Linked DNA regions of Homo sapiens: region 2 is linked to region 1. The links are contacts of gene promoters, found by promoter capture Hi-C in blood cells and fetal thymus (Javierre and others, 2016). All regions are on one chromosome and are shown on one strand. Each heading gives the region's core, a stretch centred on a gene start or on the middle of the fragment in contact. The rest is flanking DNA. Distances are from core to core; before and after follow the strand shown.

The links. Contacts are between HindIII fragments. The CHiCAGO score rates a contact against its expected background, and 5 or more counts as called.
Region 2: the fragment with the promoter of DENND6B here is called in contact with the fragment with the promoter of MIOX in region 1 in 4 of 17 cell types (M0 macrophages, M2 macrophages, M1 macrophages and 1 more); the score reaches 6.1 in M0 macrophages.

Annotation. Positions count from the first base shown.
Region 1 is chr22:50,485,433-50,488,252 of GRCh38, reverse strand. It overlaps MIOX (myo-inositol oxygenase), which reads right to left and starts at 1,394. Exons shown (of 10, transcript NM_017584.6): 1 at 1,341-1,394; 2 at 788-868; 3 at 511-591; 4 at 205-367. The coding sequence starts at 1,355. It overlaps ADM2 (adrenomedullin 2), which reads right to left. Exons shown (of 3, transcript NM_001253845.2): 3 at 1,816-2,820. The HindIII fragment of the contact is 4,673 bases long and covers 1-1,835 here.
Region 2 is chr22:50,325,560-50,328,379 of GRCh38, reverse strand. It overlaps DENND6B (DENN domain containing 6B), which reads left to right and starts at 1,368. Exons shown (of 20, transcript NM_001001794.4): 1 at 1,368-1,568. The coding sequence starts at 1,392. RefSeq lists a silencer at 980-1,619. The HindIII fragment of the contact is 18,876 bases long and covers 388-2,820 here.

The sequences.
Region 1 (2,820 bases), core at 145-2,644:
AGGTTGGGGACTGCAGGGGCCAAGGCAGAGGATGAGCAGGTTTGCGGGGCTGAGAGCCAGGAAGGGTCCAGGGCCTGCTCCCCAACCCAGGCAGGGCTGCTGGAGGAGGCCTGGGCCCACTACTGTCCCCTCCCACCCTACAGGCTGCTGCATTCTGCCCCTTGGAGGCAGCACCTGCCCCCCTGCAGCACAGCCAGGGCTCACCCTTGTCTGGGTGGGCCTTCCGGATGCCCTCCGCTGTCTGGAAGGCATGGAAGGAGTTGGGGAAATCTACGTCCGGGTCCGACTCATCCACCAGCCCATCCAGCAGGTCCACGGCCTCCATGACTGTCATTTTCTTGTAGGAGAAGCCCCCAAACTGGGCATGCTGGCGGGGAAGGAGAAGGCAGTGTGGCCCAGGGTCAGCAGGCCCACCACACAGGCCTCTCCATCCCCTCGGCGCCTGGTGGGCTCATGGGGCTGAGGGCAAGGGTCCCTCCGCGTTTGCACGGGGCGGCAGGAAACGCCTACCTTGCTCCTGACGAAGTCCACTGTCTGGTGCGTGTGCATGAGCTTGTAGGTGGTGAAGACACGGTCCAGGAGGGGACCTGACTGCAGGCCGGAGGGTCAGTGGCGCCACCCCCACCCTGCACACGAGGCCCCATGCCTCCCCTCTCCCAGGCAGCCCCACAGGGTGTGATGGGGGTGGGAGTTCCCACAGGGCACCCCCTGGAACTGTGTGAAGGGCAAGTGCTGCTCCCCAGGGTGTGGATGGGGGAGAAGGGGGGCAGGACGGCAAGGTACTCACCGTGTAGTTCCGGAAGCTGGCCTTGTCTTTGGCCACCTCTGGGTCCACATCAGGTCGGTAGACCAGGGAAGGGTCTGGGCCCTGGGTAGGTGGAGGATTGAACCTATTTCACCATCATGTCAGCTCCACGAGGAAGCACAGACATTCCCAGGGTGGCTGCAGACTCCAAGCCTGCCTCTGCTCGAGGGCTGGTGGGTGACACGCGAGGACACAGCCTCTCCCACGCCATCATCCCAGCCCCTGCCCTGGCCTCAGCGAGTCCCAGGAGCTCTCACTCCCAGGTCCTCATCTGCAAAGCGAAAGTCAGCAGACGTCTGCTTCCGGGGTACAGGGGACACCACGCCTGAGCGGCACCCATGGCCACCCTTGAGGGGTGGAAGTGGCTTTGGGAGGAGACTGAGTCCACAGGGAGCCTGGGGGTCGGCAGCCGCTGGCTCTTGCCCAGCTGGACGGAGGAGGAGGGCTGGCCAGTGCCAGCTAGAAGAGGGCGGGAGTGGCTGGCCACCAGGAGAGCAGTCAGCAGAGCCTCTCTGCATGGGGTCTGGGTACTCACCACCGTCACCTTCATCCTGAGAGGGAGCGGCGCTCAGGTGGCAAAGCACAGGCTGGCGAGTGTGTCCTCAGCCAGGCTCCTATATACACCCCAGGTTACATAAGTGTCCGCAGTAATAAATGACCATCCACCCTCCTCCCGGCCTCAGGGAGTTAATGTGTCAGCACAGCAGCAGCCCCCAGCAGTCCCACATCCTCTGGCCCTGACTCAGCCTCACACTCCTGTCCCGAGCCGCTGACCTGCCTAGGGTTATCTGTGGGCCCAGCCTCCCACTTGGGCCCTGGCCTTAGACCCCTCTGTGGGGTCCCACAAGTAGGGGCAGACCCAAGACCCCACCCTCAAGCACACGCCCCCTCTGCACCACCCCTTCCCCGGCTGCCCCACTGGATCTCAGGAGGTGAAAACTTGTCCCCAGGCCCCCCGTGATTCTGGGTGGGGCAGGAGCTTGTTAAGAAAAGATGATTCTGAGGACTTGTTAAAATGGTGAGAAAAGCTTTATTCAAGAGAGTGGTGAGAGGAGCTCACCTCCGAGTTCAACAACCACAGCTGGAGATTGATGGCGTTGGAGGGGTCAGCGGATGGGAAGTTGTTAGGGCGGCCTTCGAGGGTAGGGGGATTCTCACTGGAGTGGCTCAATGAGGATCTTGCAGGAGGCCGGCAGGGTGATGAGATCAAGGGTGGGAGATGAGGAATGGGATCAGATATCGAGGGTGGGTAATTCTCCATAAACTGATTTAGAGGATTCTTGCTAACACCGGGGTCGGCGGGCCCAGCGAGGATGGGGATGGGGTCAGGCCTCGTCGAGGAAAGGACTCAGGGGCACCTGCCTAGAGTTCGGCCACAGAGTGTGTCAGGCTCTGGGAGAGGGGCCTCACGGAGAGTTGGAGCAGGCACGGAACCGCCAACACCCAGGCCGCCAACGCAACTTCCCATGCATGGGCCCTGCAGGCATGGAGGACACCGTGAGAACAAAGTGCCCGCGGCAGAGCTGGCGTCTTGGAGCGTGGCCAGGGAAGTCTGGGAACAGCAGTCGGCTGGGGCAGGAGAGAGGGCAGTGGGGTGCTGGGGCCATACCTAGGGCTGTGAAGATCAGAGTTCTGGGCTTCAGGGGTCAGGCAAGAGGGCTGTGGGCAGCTGACCTGACTCAACAAGATCCTGGCACAGCTGAGCTGAGAAGCAACTGTGAGGAGACCCCAGCGCCCCCCATTTAAACGGCACCTGCCCCACACTCTCCTTCCTTGTCTGACTTCCTGTGGCACTCAGCACTCCCTGCCACTCCACCACCCACTTATTCTACCTTCTACGTTTGTCTCCTTCTATCTCCCCCTAGAATGTCAGCCCCTGGGGGTCAAGGCTGTATCCTCACGTGTCCCAACACGGGTAGGTCACGTGCTCAGCATGCACTGGCCAGAGGGATGCAGACAGGTGCCTGGGAGGAGGCTACGGCCATCGCCCCGAAAGCAGGTGGTGCCTGGGTCAG
Region 2 (2,820 bases), core at 119-2,618, 160 kb after region 1:
TGCACGCCTGTAATTCCAGCTACTCGGGAGGCTGAGGCAGGAGAATCGCTCGAACCCAGTAGGCAGAGGTTGCAGTGAGCCAAGACCATGCCATTGCACTCCTGCCTGGGCAACAAGAGCAACATTCTGTCTCAAAAAAAACAACAGAAACAAACAAACAAAAAACAATACGGCCATGTGCTACTCAACGGTGAAGCTATGTCCTGAGAAATGTGTCATTAGGCGATTTTGTTATGTGACAAACCTAGATGGGACAGCCTACCCCACACCTAGGCCAGATGATCCGAACAACACGTGGTAATCTTTTATTTTTTTATTTTTGAGATGGAGTCTCACTCTGTCGCCCAGGCTGGAGTGCAATGGCGACATCTCAGCTCACTGCAAGCTTCGCCTCCGGGGTTCAAACGATTCTCCTGCCTCAGCCTCCCCAATAGCTGGGGTTACGGCGCTCGCCAGCCACCACGCCCGGCTAATTTTTGTATTTTCAGTAGAGACAGGGTTTCACCAGGTTGGTCTCGATTTCCTGGATTCGTGATCCGCCACCCCACCTCGGCCTCCCAAAGCGGTGAGATTACAGGCGTGAGCCACCGCGTCTGGCCAACACGTGGTAATCTGAAGGGACCACCACAGTATATGCGGCCCGCCTTCCACGGAAACGTCATGAGGCCCACGACTCAAAGGCGTGCCTCATTAAGTTACCGACAGCCCCAAACTCGCCCTTCCACGCCGGGCCTCAAGGTGCTCTGTGGACCACAGCGGGGCCCGGGGCCCTCGCGAGGGAGGGAAGAGTTCGCTCCAGGTCCCCGCGATTCCCCCGGAAAGTGAAACTGCAGAGGTGTTGCGTGGACACCCGCGGTCAGACACGACCCCAGGCCGCGCGGGCCCCAGAGGAAGCGAGCGCGAGTCCGCGGTGGTGGCTGGGCGCTCAGTGAGGACGCCATTCCGCCACGAAAACGCCCGCGACGCCGCTGGCCCCTGCGCGGTGGGGCGAGGTAGGCTGGCCGGACCTGCGAAGCCCGACGAGCCCGGCGCCGGCTGGCTGCAGCTTGCTCTGCCTCCCTGGCCTGGCCCCGAGGCTCCCGCGAGCCGGGATCCGCGAACACCGGGGCCGAACCGACTCTCTCGGGCCTCAGACGGCGTGGACCCTGGAAGGCCCCAGTTCGGCCGCTTCCCCGGAAGTCCCCCAGTGGGCTCCGGCCGCTCTGGCCCGCGCGCGTCCGGCTCGCTGGTGCCCTGGGCGGCGCCCGGCCGCTGGCGCTTCTCGGGCGCTAGGGGGCGCGCGGCCGCGCGGGAGCCGCACTGGGCCGCGGCGGCCGCTCGACTGTTCTGAGGAGCGGCCCGGACGCGCGCCGCCCCCGCCCGCGTTTCCCCGGCAACCCGCGGCCGCCGCCATGGACGCGCTGTTGGGCACAGGGCCTCGCCGGGCTCGCGGCTGCCTGGGCGCGGCTGGACCCACGTCTTCAGGTCGCGCGGCGCGGACCCCGGCGGCGCCCTGGGCGCGCTTCTCCGCCTGGCTGGAGTGTGTGTGCGTGGTCACCTTCGACCTGGAGCTGGGCCAGGCGCTGGAGGTGAGCGGGCGCGAGCGCGGGCGCGGGCGGGTGGGCAGGGCTGCGCCTCTCGGGGCCAGTCCCGCCTCGCTTGGGGCCCTCGGCCGCCCCGCACTCTCCCTGGCCTTCGGCCGCCGCCTCCTGGAGGGGCCTCTTCTCCGGGCTCCAGAAGCGCTCCCCAGGCCGAGGAGGGAAGGCGAGCTGCTCGGAGTCGGATCTTGTCTTCACATTGGGATGGAGCATTTTGCATAACCTAAGTGGTACTCTTTCGATTTTTCCCAGTAAATGTCTCACATCTCCCCCCTCCATTCCCCACCGGAGCAGTGACACCTTCATCCCCTCAGTGGCTCCCGCCAGAGTCCCGGGCTTACCCTCCGCTCCGCATCCCATCTCTGGGCATAGGCGAGGCTGACGGCTCCTTCTGCAACAAAGGTCTCGGATCCGTTCCTTTGCTGCCATCACTGATGTCATCCCCACCCCAGCTGCACCCCAGAGTTCAACCTTTGTGGCTCTCCTGCTTAAAACCCTGCAGCGCCTCCTTGTTCACCTAGCATCAGATCCAGACCCCATGGGCCCCGTCCCTCCACCTGCGTCTTGTGGTGTTCTTGCTCGTGGGGGTCTGTTCATCGGCTGTGCCCATGGGCTTTCGATGTGGTCTTTCTGCTGCCTGCAGGCCTCCACTCACCTACCCACACAGGCAGCCTCCTTTCCTCCAGGGAGGCCCCGCAGGATGATCTTCTCTGTGTCCTGTGTAACACACACCAGGGAGCTGACCAGCACAGGGGAGGCCCACCTGCAGATGGAGGGAGGCTTCCCCGCGCTGGCGCAAGGAACCTCGTGAGGGGTAGTGAGCTCTCTATTACCGCAGGTGTCCAAGATCAGGCCAAATCATCATCATCAGGAAAGCCAGGCAGCGCGTCTCTGTGGTTGGGAGATGCTTTCTAAGGCCCTGCTGAACTCCAAGAGGCCATGAGAAGCATATAGTCTTCTAAACAGAAAAGCATTAACTCTAGCACTCTCTGGAGCCCCTCCCACCACACACGGTCCCCAGCAGGTGCACAGCCTCAAACAGCATCACTGGGTGGGGGCTGAGTACCAAGAAGTGTGGTGACCTGCCCAGGGTTGAAAACCTTTCTTAGTTCAATACTGTTGCCCAGATTGTTCCCCACAAAATCACAAAAGAAGTTAAGAGGTTCCTGGCCGGACGCGGTGACTCATGCCTGTAATCCCAGCACTTTGAGAGGCCGAGGCAGGCAGATCACAAGGTCAGCAG